3 separate regions of the Homo sapiens genome follow, and regions 1 and 3 are each linked to region 2. Evidence: promoter capture Hi-C in human tissues and cell types (Jung and others, 2019). All regions are on one chromosome and are shown on one strand. Each heading gives the region's core, a stretch centred on a gene start or on the middle of the fragment in contact. The rest is flanking DNA. Distances are from core to core; before and after follow the strand shown.

What was found. Contacts are between HindIII fragments. The study calls those that stand out against the background at their distance.
Region 1: a fragment that was not itself captured here is called in contact with the fragment with the promoter of PRR5-ARHGAP8 in region 2 in 1 of the 25 tissues and cell types used here (aorta).
Region 3: a contact is called between a fragment that was not itself captured here and the fragment with the promoter of PRR5-ARHGAP8 in region 2, in 2 of the 25 tissues and cell types used here (IMR-90 fibroblasts and lymphoblastoid cells).

The regions. Positions count from the first base shown.
Region 1 is chr22:44,832,876-44,836,898 of GRCh38, forward strand. All of the region lies in intron 10 of PRR5-ARHGAP8 (PRR5-ARHGAP8 readthrough), which reads left to right. The region is part of intron 7 of ARHGAP8 (Rho GTPase activating protein 8); the gene reads left to right. Among named protein-coding and RNA genes, the nearest start is that of ARHGAP8, 82 kb to the left of the region's middle. The HindIII fragment of the contact is 4,769 bases long and covers 1-3,823 here.
Region 2 is chr22:44,699,759-44,703,811 of GRCh38, forward strand. PRR5-ARHGAP8 (PRR5-ARHGAP8 readthrough) reads left to right here and starts at 2,446. Exons shown (of 15, transcript NM_181334.6): 1 at 2,446-2,850. The coding sequence starts at 2,717. PRR5 (proline rich 5) reads left to right here and starts at 2,446. Exons shown (of 8, transcript NM_181333.4): 1 at 2,446-2,850. The coding sequence starts at 2,717. RefSeq lists an enhancer at 1-71 and a silencer at 2,320-2,729. The HindIII fragment of the contact is 17,168 bases long and covers 1-4,053 here.
Region 3 is chr22:44,529,719-44,533,705 of GRCh38, forward strand. No RefSeq gene overlaps it. Among named protein-coding and RNA genes, the nearest start is that of RTL6, 33 kb to the left of the region's middle. The HindIII fragment of the contact is 8,689 bases long and covers 1-3,987 here.

The DNA of each region.
Region 1 (4,023 bases), core at 189-2,688, 130 kb after region 2:
CAGCTATTTGGGAGATTGAGGTGGGAGGATCACTTGAGGCCGGGAGTTCAAGACTAGCCTGGACAACATAGCAAGACCCTGTGTCTATTAAAAACACACACACACACACACACACAAAAGAATCAACAGTCCTTCACTACTAAGCATAATGTTAGCTGTGTGCATTTCATAGATGCCCTTTATCAGGTTAAGAACCATCTTTTTTCTTTTCTTTTCTTTTCTTTTTTTTTTTTTTTTTTGAGATAGAGTCTCCCTCTGTTGCGTAGGTTGGAGCACAGTGGTGCAATTATAGATCAGTGCAACCTCAGATTCCTGGGCTCCAGTGATCCTCCTGTCTCAGCTTCCCAAGTAGCTGGTACTATAGGTATATACTACCATGCCTGGTTAATTTTTAAATGTGTTTAGTAGAGACAGGGTCTCACTATGTTGCCCAGGCTGGGAACATCATTTCTATTTCTAGTTTGTTGAGTGGTTGGTTGGTTGGTTGGTTGGTTTGTTCATGTAAAGGTGTTAGGTTTTGTGAAATGCTTTTCATCGCCATTGAGATAATCACATGGCTTTTGTCCTTTATACTGTTGATATGGTGTATTATATTGATTGATTTTTACATGTTGAATAAACCTTGTATTCCTGGGATAAATCATTTGTGTTCATGGTGTATAATCTTTTTCATATATTGCTGGATTTGCTTTGCTTGTATTTTGTTGAGGATTTTGTATTTATATTTATAAGAGGTATTAGTTTGTCATTTTCTTGTCTTATGATATCCTTGTCTGGTTTTGGTGATACTGGCCTCAGAATGAGTTGGGAAGTGTTTCCTCCTCTTCTATTTTTTGGAAGAATTTGTACCATATTAGAGTTAATTTGTTAAACATTTTACAGAATTCACCACTGAAGCCATCTGATCTTAGGCTTTACTTTGTGGGAAGTTTTAAAATTACTAATGTAACCTCTTTGCTTGTTATATTTATTCAGATTTTATATTTCTTCTTGAGTCCATTTTGATTGTTTGTGTCTTTCCAGGAATTTGTTCATTTCGTCTAGGTTTTCTAATTAGTTGGCATGTAATTGTTCATAGTACTTCATAATCCTTTTATTTGTATAATGTCACTAGTAATGTTTCCTCTTCCATTCCTGATTTTAGTAATTTGAATCTTCACCCTTTTTTTCTTGGTCAGTCTAGCTAAAAGCTTGTCAATTTGTTGATCTTTTCAAGGAGTCAACTTTTGGTTTTGATGATGTTCTCTGTTATTTTCCTATTTTCTATTTATTTCTACTCCAGTCTTTATTATTTTCTTCCTTCTGCCTGTGTCAGATTTAGTTCATTTTCTTTTTCCAGTTTTTTAAGGTGGAATGTTTATCATTTTAGAATCTTGCTTTTTGCAATGTAAGCATCTATGGCTATAAATTACTAAGTCCTGCAATAGATGTATCTGTTAGTGTATTATTTCCATGATTTTAATTAATCTTAAAGTATTTTCTAATTTATCTTGTAATTTTTTTCTTTGATTCATTGATTTCTAGGAGTCTGTTGTTAAATTTTCACATATCTGTTTTTGATTTTTAATTTTATTTTATTATAATTAGATAACTTACTTTGTATGATTTAACTTCTTTCAGATGTATGGAGGCTTGTTATGTGGTATAACATATGGTCTAGCCTGGAGAATATTCAACGGACACATGAGAAGAGTGTACATTCTATTATTGTTGGGTGGAGTGCTCTATAAATGTCAATTAAGTCTACTTGGTTTTTAGTATTTTTCAGTCTTCTGTTTCTCTGTCAATTTCTGCCTAGTTGTTCTATTTATTATTGAAAGTGGGGGATTGAAGTCTCCAGTATCATTTTAAAATTATTTATTTCTCCCTTCAATTATGTCTGTTTTGGCTCCACATGTTTAGGGGCTGTATTGTTAGGTGCATACATTTTTATGATTCTTACTTTCTTATGAATCCTTGCATGATGATAAAAAAAATGTCCTTCCTTGCCACTAGTAACAATTTTTGTGTTAAAGTCTATTTTGTCGGATATTAATATAGCCATTATAGCTCTTTTTAGTTACTGTTTGCATGGTGTATCTTTGTTCATCTCTTTACTTTCAACCTATTTGTGTCTTTGAATCTAAATTGTGTCTCTTGCAGACAGCATATAATTAGGTCATGTTTTTCCCCATTCCACCTTCTTTATTAGATTATTTAATCCATTTACATTTAGTGTGATTACTGGAGTTACATCTGCCATTTTGCTATTTGTTTTCTATATGTCTTTTTTGTTCCTTTATGTCTTCATTAATACCTTCTTTTGTGTTAAATACATACTTTCTAGTGTACTGTTTCAATTTTTTGTTTCTTTTGCTATATATATATATATATATTTAAAGTATTTTCTCAATTGTTGCCTTAGGGATTAGAATTTATATCTTAATTTATAACCATCTAGTTCTAATTAAGAAGGATTGTGGAGCCAGGCGTGGTGGCTGAAGCCTGTAGTCTCAGCACTTTGGGAGGCCGAGGTGGGCGGATCACGAGATCGAGACACTGAGACCATCCTGGCCAACATGGTGAAACCCCGTCTCTACTAAAAGTACAAAAAAAATTAGCCGGGCATGGTTGCAGGCGCCTATAGGCCCAGCTACTCAGGAGGCTGAGGCAGGAGAATCACTTGAACCGGGGAGGCGGAGGTTGCAGTGAGCCAAGATCGCGCCACTGCACTCCAGCATGGCAACAGAGTGAGAATCAGTCTCAAGAAAAAGAAGGATTGGGGACTTGCAAACTCTTCAGAGAATACAACTTTTGGGTGTTGTCTTCCACCCCGTGCTAACACTCCTTCTTTGCCACTGGAAGAAACTTGATCTGATGGTGATCTTATTAGCAAGCAGGACCATGTGGCCCTTTTAGTTTCTCCTTATCTCCCAGAGCCAAGGTGTTAACTGAGCCAGTGTTCACTTTTGTCAGAAAAGAACTGGTAAGTATCTGTCTTTCTAGTCTCTTTTTTCCTGTGTGCGTAGGATATGCTCTTCTTCGGTCTCCTGTACCATGTGGCTGTCTGGAGACTATACAATCCTTCTCTTTGCGATCGGCCTCCAGGGTGGGACACTGGCCTCCCATAGGCTCTGGTTCTGAGCCGTGTGTGCCAATCTGACTTGCCAGAACCTCTACCCCATTAGAGTTTTGGGGACTGACCTCACTAAGGATACCAAGCAGTTTCTCATTCCCCATCTGCCTGCAAAGAGGGGCAGCCCTGCAGATGTGAGACTACAGGATTCCAGTGCCTTGTTGCCACCTTTCACCTCACGACAGCTCCACCTCATACCAAATCACAACTCTAAATGCAAGACTGTGATCTGTACCTTTTTTTTTTCTTTCTTTCTTTTGAGACAGGGTCTCACTATGTTGCTCAGGTTGGTTTCAAACTCCTGGGGCCAACTAATGTTCCTGCCTCAGCCTCCTGAGTAGCTGGGATTACAGGTGTATTGTCACACTGCTTGTCTTTTGAACCCAGGTATAATGAGGACTTTGAAGTCAGATTTTAACTTGAACCCTGGCTCTAGTCAACCCTAGGCTGTGTGACTCCAGACATAATAATTTGCCTGAGCCTCAGTTTTGTCCTCTATAAAAATGGGGGCACAGTGATGCAGTGAGTGGGCTTTAGTATTGCACGTGGTGCACAGTAGGTCCTCAGTACACAGTAGGTCCTCAGTGCACAGTGGTCACTGTGATCGTTCACATGCACTGCCCATTTCTCTGGGCATCCAGGACCTCCCTGGCTGACTCTGTGACTGAGAACTTTGCAGGTCAGTGGTGCAAGCTGCAGCCATTCATCCCCTTTCAAATATTGGGAGGGGACGTGTTGTATTTAGAAGATGCAGGACCATCTCAGAGGGTTGGGAAAAGCCTGGGTGCCCAGCTGAGGCAGGCCTGCTCAGCACTCCCCATTATCACTGTAATTTCAGGTTGCCATTCCTCCCTCCCCCTTCCCTCCTGTTTCTTTCTTTCTTGTTTTGTTTTGTTTGTTTGTTTTGA
Region 2 (4,053 bases), core at 1,196-3,695:
AACTTCTCTGAAAGACGTTCTAGGGCAGGGGAGGGACCCGCAGCTGGAGGGCAAGCAGGTCTCAAAGGCCCCTCCGAGGAGTCAAGGATCTGGGCTTTATCCTCTGTTTTCATTCTTTTCAGAGACAATTCAGTACATGCTTTAGTATTTTTATATGTTTTTTGTTGTTGTTTTTGTTTTTTTTTTTACAGCAGTAAGGTAGGAAATCCTTGTCTGGCCATGAAATTTGGTTTGGGATCTAAAAGATACAGTGTTCCCGTAAGTTTGAGAGCGTGGGCTAGGCACAGTAGTTCATGCCTGTAATCCTAACACTATGGGTGGCCAAAAGTGGGAGGACTCCTTGAGTCCAGAAGTTTGAGACCAGCCTGGGCAACATAGCAAGACCTTGTCTCTATTACAAAATTTTTTAAAAATTAGCCAGGGAGCCGGGCACAGTGGTTCATTCTTGTAATCCCAGCACTTTAGGAGGCCGAGGTGGGAGGATCACCTGAGGTCAGGAGTTTAAGACCAGCCTGGCCAACATGGTGAAACCCCATCTCTACTAATAAATAAAAAAATCAGCCAGGCGTGGTGGTAGGTGCCTATAATCTCAGCTACTCACTAGATTGAGGCAGGAGAATCACTTGAACCTGGGAGGCAGAGGTTAGCAGTGAGCCATGATTGCGCCATTGCACTCCACAGGCGACAAGAGCGAAACGCCATCACACACGCAAAAAATCAGCCAGGCATGGTGGCACATGCCTTGTAGTCCCAGCTATTCAGGAGGCTAACGTGGGAGGGTTGCTTGAACCCAGGAGGTAGAGGCTGCAGTGACCACAGTGGTGCCACTGCATTCAACCTGGGCCAAAAAGTGAGACTCTGTCTCAAAAAGAAAAGAAAACGTGTACAGCACTTGACAGTTAGTTTATAAAGCACCTGTTGCTGCCTGTGGGCCCCAAGCTGCCTGTGAGATGAACCGTTCCATCCCGCTTTACTGATGAGCAAGTTTGTCTGTTTATGTCTCTGTCTCCCAAAGACGATGGTATTTATGTCTGGAACACAGGAGGTACTCAGGAGACACTGGTTGATTTGCACTAAACAAAGACTCTTCATGAGGCTCTCTTACTTTTTATTTTATTTTATTATGATGATGATGATTTTTGAGACGGAGTTTTGCTGTTGTTGCCCAGGCTGGAGTGCAGTGGCGAGATCTCAGCTCTCTGCAACCTCTGCCTCCCAGGTTCAAGCGATTCTCCTGTCTCAGCCTCCTGAGTAGCTGGGATTACGGGCATGCACCACCACGCCCAGCTAATTTTGTATTTTTAATAGAGATGGGGTTTCTCCATGTTGGCCGGGCTGGTCTTGAACTCCTGACCTCAGGTGATCCTCCCACCTCGGCCTCCCAAAGTGCTGGGATTACAGGCATGAGCCATCACCTCTCTCTTACATTTTATATGGGGCCCTCCCAGCTCCTGGAGCTGTGGCTGTCACCCCCCATCTGATGGAGGGGTCAGGTGAGCCTTGTGGGAATCCCAGAAGCTGGGGACTGGGAAGGGCCCTGTTCAAGGGGCTGGACGCTCCCTGTGGTGAAGCCCAACTCTACCATTTGTTGATTGCACAATGTTGGCACAATGTTGGGCAAGTTATTTCACTCTGTGAGCCTCAATGTCCTCAACTGGAAAATGGGGAGAAGAATAATCTCTACCTCACGGAAGTAGTTCATGTTAGTTCATGTGAAATCAGACATCTAAAAGTGCTCTGCGAAGCAGGCAGGAAGCACCGGCTGTGCCCTGCCTTCACTGGGATCACTCTGCCCCCACCACAGGGACTTGGGAAACTGCTTGGTTTTACCATCCAAGAGACCTGGGGGTGGGAGATAAGGAGCAAACCCTCTACTTCTTCAAGCCCTCACTCCAGCAAATCCTCCAGGCAGCCAGGCAATGCTGAAGTCCCTGTCCAAGGGGGTCTAGGCTGAGCCCGGGTGGAGTGGGTTCTTGGGCCAAGGTGCCTGGAGGGGACTGAAGGCCTCTACCCAAAGTCCTCATGAGAACTGGGTGGGGGAGCCTGTGTTCAGGTGAGGGGTACGGAGGCACCTCTGTGGCACAGCCTTTGCGAGGAGGGCTGTGGAGGGAGACCTCCGGGGCCGGGGTCGAAGGACATCGTGTGGGCGCGACCGCAGTGCTGGGCGGGGGGCGGGCGCTTGGGCTTGGGCCCTGCGTCCTGTGCGTGTTGGTTTCCTGTGGGCACGTGGGGCCCTCGGAAGAGGGGAGGAGGGTGAGCACGTCCTCAGAGGGCAGACCCAGCGAGGCGTCGTGGCAGCTGCGGCCGCGGAGACGCCGGCTCCGCCTCTTGCACACGCCCCCTCGCCTGAGGCCCCGCCCCGCCCGCGATGCCCCCGCCCCCTTCCCCGCCCCGCCCCCCGGGGCGCCGAGACCCGCCCCTGGGCCCGCCCCCGGGTCCGCCCCCGGCCTCCGTTTGCGCCGGGTCTGTGCTGGCCGCGCGCCTGGCGCTCCACGCTGAGCCTCTCCGTGCAATGATTAACCCGGCGGGGCGGCCGGCGCGGGACCCGAGACGGAGGCGCGGGGCCGGGGCGGGACCCCGCAGGACCGCTCGGCTTCCTGCTCTCGCCGGAGTTTCCGCGTAGAGGGCGCATCGCCGGCCCGGGGCCCTTGGTGCGGCGTGGCGCAGGGCGCGGCGTGGGGCGCGCGTGGGCGCGGCGCAGGCGGCCCGGGTCACCATGAGGACTCTCCGCAGGTTGAAGTTCATGAGTTCGCCCAGCCTCAGTGACCTGGGCAAGAGAGAGCCGGCCGCCGCCGCGGACGAGCGGGGCACGCAGCAGCGCCGGGCCTGCGCCAACGCCACCTGGAACAGGTAAGGCCGCGCCCTCCCGGCCACCCGGAGGCCCTGGAGCCGGGGGAGGGGACCCCTGAGCCGTCCGCGGGCTAGGGGCCGCCCCGAGCCAGGAACGCTGCCGAAGGCGGCGCGGCGCTTCACAGTTTGCAAAGAACTTGCCCCGCCGGAGTGGTGCGGGCCTGGAGGAAAGTTCAGTGCAGCGTGGTTCCAGAACCCAGGGAAGGGAGCGAGGCCCGCCAGCGCCCGGGGCTGGCCCAGAAGCGCCCGGCGGGTGGGCGGCGGGGTGGGCCGGGAAGCCGCGTGCCCGCCTCCTACCCGGGGTCTTTCCACGTCTCCACTGCGGTGCTCGTGACAACCTGGGAGGCTAACGGAGCAGGAAGTATTTTTCCCATTTTGCGGCTGAGCACGGGAGCCTCGGGGCTCAGTGGGTGGGTCGCGCAGGCTTCCTGTGTCTCTTTAAGCTCCCTTCGGCTTTCCCTTGAGAGGCCCCCTGTCCTCCAGCTGTCAGCAGGGGGTGCGGCAGCTGCGAGGCATTCTTTAGAGGACTCTCCTCCAGGGGTCATTCCCAGACAAGCAGGGGCCTGGGAAGCCCCTTCTCCCAGCTTTGTTTGAGGAGCAAGTCCGGGATCTGGAAAAGAGACGGTTTATTTAGTGGAACTCCCCAGCGTCTCTGCTCCCTAGGAAAATGAGAGGCAGGAGAAAGTGAGGCAGGCTGTTCGCGGGAGGCAGTGGACACTGTTCGGGGGAGGCTGTGGACACTGTTCGGGGGAGGCTGTGGACGTTGCCCCTCTCGCGCCCACACCTGGCAGTAAAATCTTGCCAGATGCTCCACCGGCTGTGGTCTTGGCCACCGGGAACCCGGCTGTCACTTGGACACACGTTATTTTCAGTTCATTGAATGCATTGTGAGCGTCATGGTGGGCTCAGGGCTGCCAGCGAGACCCTCTTCAAACGTGGTCTCTTCTGTCTCTGAGTTGCAAACTGCTAGAGGGCTGTCACATGCCTGCCTCCGTTTCCCTCTCCGTCAGTGGGTATTCGCATTCCTCCCTGTGGGGAGGGCTGGTGTGGGAACAGTGAAGGAAGGACTCCTGTTGGGAAATCTCCCTGACCCAACGACTGCACAGTGTCTTAAGAGCTGTGTTCTCCACCAGGCACGGCGGCTCACACCTGTAATCCTAGCACTTTGGGAGGCCAAGATGGGAGGATTACTTGAGCCAGGGA
Region 3 (3,987 bases), core at 1,234-3,733, 170 kb before region 2:
CCATTTTATTTTATTATTGAGGTATAATTTATATATAGTAAAAGGCCCAGATCTTAAGTACAATTCACTTCCATAAATAAATTCACCTGATTAAGCCAAACCCCCGTTAAGATACAGAATATTTCCGTCACCCCAGAATGTTGCCTCGTGCCCCTGGTCCCAAGGCTGGGGTTGGGGTAAAGCAAACCACCAGAGCACATTTAAAGCTCTCCTTGGCCCAGCATGTTCCATTGGCCTGAACGGATCATACAGCCAAGGCCTGAGTTAAACAGGAAGGCTCATCTGCTTGCAGCACAATATGGAGGGTGAGAGGCTACAGGAAGCTAGGATCACACTTAGCTGAGGTCATTCTGACTTCACATGCCATAAAAATCCAAGCTGATAATACAACGTTATGCTGTCATAACAACCATCATAATACTTGTTTTTACCTTCGACTGAGCAAAGGTGAAAAAAAATGCTTGATCGTATTGGCCAGGTGCTGGAGGTCAGTCTCGCATGCCGCTGGTAGAAAGATAACTTGGTCATCCTTTCTGGAGGACAACTTGGTAACATTTTATGAAGCAATGAGAAAATGCTCAGATCATTCATCAGGCATTACCTTGCCATGAATTTCATCAGATGAGGCCACAAACATCTCCCTCCCTCTGAGGGTGCATCACCAGGGTTGCATGGAGTGGGTGGAAACTCCATTTTCTTTCCACAATCTTCCTTCCCTGCCCTCAGCCCTGCCACAGTCCCTGTGGGTAGTGTCGCTTTCAGAGCTTCCTTGCCTCAAGGCTGGGTCATGAGACCTGCTTGGAACGCTGGGATGTGGGCAGAAGGGACGGCATGGCTCTTTGAGGCATGCCAGGGTTCCACTCCCCCTCTGGCTTTCCTGCCCCCCACCATCAGAAGAGATGTCTGAGCTGACACCACTCCTTCTTCCTGGGTTTTGGGGAGAGGGGGGCAGAAACAGGTGGAACAGGCCTAAACCCAATCACAGCCCAAAATCGAGCACAGTGCTTGTCATTGGAAGCCACTGAGAGACAGGGAATGTTTGTTATGCAGCATTATTACAGCCAAAGCTGACTAATACGATGGGGGACATTTTAAAACAACTGAGCAAAAGTAGAAAAACATTGTTAAATGCTTACTGTGTTCCATGCAGGCACTTAACCAAGAGCTTTACAAATAATAACTCATGGCCGACTGTGGTGGCTCACGCCTATAATCCCAGCACTTTGGGAGGCCAAGGCGGGCAGATCACGAGGTCAGGAGATCAAGACCACCCTGGCTAACATGGTGAAACCCCGTCTCTACTAAAAATACAAAAAAATTAGCCGGGCGTGGTGGCAGGCTCCTGTAGTCCCAGCTACTCGGGAGGCTGAGGCAGGAGAATGGCGTGAACCAAGGAGGCAGAGCTTGCAGTGAGCCGAGATCGCACCATTGCACTCCAGCCTGGGTGACAGAGCGAGACTCCATCTCAACAAAAAAATAAATAAAAATAAATAAATAACTCATTTAATTCTTACAGCAACTGTATGTGGTCAGCGCAGTTTTCAAACTTATTTTACAGATAAGGAAACGGAGGCCCCAAGAAGTAAATAAGTTGCTGGGCACAGTGGCTCATGGCTGTAATCCCAGAACTTTGGGAGGCCGAGGCGGGTGGATCACCTGAGGTCAGGAGTTCGAGACCAGCCTGGCCAACATGGCGAAACCCCGTCTCTACTAAAAATACAAAAATTAGCCAGGTGTGGTGGCATGCACCTGTAATCCCAGCTACACGGGAGGCTGAGACAGGAGACTCGCTCGAACCTGGGAGGTGGAGGTTGCAGTGAGCTGAGATTGCGCTACTGCACTTCAGCCTGGGCAACAAGAACAAGATTCCGTCTCATAAAAAAAAAAAAGAGAGAGAGAGAGATAAATAAGTTGTCTCTGATGAATCACCAGTGCCTGGCAGAGCCCAGATCTGAACCTGTGCAGCTTGGCTCTGGCACCCAGATGTTTATTCACACTGGTGGCAGAGATTTGGCTCCGTAAAGCCGTTAACAACCCAGATAACGGAATGTCTGCAGCCCTTAAAAAGACACAGTCAAGCAGGTTAAATGGTCAGTCCTCAACCTTTCCTTTTGCTGAACAGCCACTGTAGATGGTGTCCCATACCCCTCTCCCCTGAGCACACCCCCTGACCAGTGCAGCACACACCACCTGTCATGTGACCACGGCCACGAGCACCCCCTCATTCCAGCTAAGCAAATGCCTCAGAGCCCCTGTACCTGATGTCGACCTTGAACTCATGATGATTTCTGAAAAAGGTCATGGACTTTCCAAAGCATCAGCATATAAAATGCTTACAAGCCTTCATGCATCCGTGGTGGCCATTATTTTAAAGGGTTTTTTGTTGTTGTTGTTGTTTTATTGAGACAGAGTCTTGCTCTGTCACCAGGCTGGAGTGCAGTGGTGTGATCTTGGCTCCTGGCAACCTCCACCTCCCAGGTTCAAGCAATTGTCCTGCCTCAGCCTCCCGAGTAGCTGGGTCCACAGGTGCACACCACCACGCCCAGCTAATTTTTGTATTTTTAGTAGAGACGGGGTTTCACCATGTTGGCCAGGATGGTCTCGATCTCTTGACCTTGTGATCCCCCTGCCTCGGCCTCCCAAAGTGCTGAGATTACAGGCGTGAGCCACTGCGCCCAGCCTATTATTTCTTGATGTAGAGAAGAAGCTGTGTGTGTGTGTTTACAGAGAGGGATAGGGATCCCAAATTTGGAAGGAAGGAAGAAAAGGAAGGAGGGAGAGAAGAGAGGGAGAAAGAGAAGGGAAGACAAGGAAAGTGAAAAGAAGCAAAATAAATATCCTCCCACACATAGCCCTGTTGGGTTGTTTTGTCTGTTCTGGTTTCACATATAAATGTCATCTTGGAATGGGTCATCTTTTCTGTCTGATGTTTTCCACTCAACACTGAGAGAGTCATCGTCGCTGCTGCCTTTGTCTGTGGCACCTGCGTTCTTGTTATTGTGAAGTATTCCATTGTGTGGCTCTCCCAAGTGCACCTCTCCACCCACTGTGATGGGCGTACGGGTGGACTTCTAGTCTGAAACGGTCAGGAACACCCCAGTGGGTGTCTCTGCACCTGCGGTGAGCAGCTGTGTGCATTTCCGCCCTCTGCAAACATCCTTCGGAGCAGGATGGCCGGGTCACTGCGGGGCTCAGGTTCAGCTTAGTAGATACTGCCAAGTGGTTTTCAAAATGGCTGAGCCGGTTTCCAATCCTGCCAGCATTTATTTCATCTATGGCACAGAGGCTATGATTATTGCAGGGAGGAGCAGAGACTAGAAGGGGCGTGGAGGAGGTTTTTTGTTTGTTTTGGATTGTTCGGTTTTGGTGTTGGTTTTGGTTTCAGAGACAGGGTCTCACTCTGTCACCCAGGCTGGAGTTCAGTGGCGTGATCTTAGCTCACTGCAGCCTCCATCTCCCAGGCTCAAGTGAACTTCCCACCTCAGCCTCCCGAGTAGCTGGGACTACAGGTGTGCGCCACCACCCCTGGCTAGTTTTTTTTGGTATTTTTTTGTAGAGACAAGGGTCTCACTTGGTTGCCCAGGCTGGTCTCGAACTCCTGGGCTCAAGCAATCCCCACTCCTCGACCTCCCAAAGTACTGGGACTACAGGCATGAGCCACCATGCCAGGAGGCAGTTTTTGAGGTGCTGATAACATTGTATCCAGATCTGGGTGCTGGATACATGGGTCTGTAACCATTGACAATTCACCCAGCTACACACTCAGAATTGGTGCACTTTTCTAGATACATATTATACTTCAATATGTTTTAGAAGAAATATGTCCATAAACGCAGATACATATACACAACTCTGCAGCAAGGGGCATGAAAAATTAAAAAATAAATAATAAATATTTTTAAAAGATACATGGCTGCATGTGGTGGCTCACGCCTGTAGTCCCAGTACTTTGGGAGGCTGCGGCTTGAGCCTAGGAGTTCCAGACCA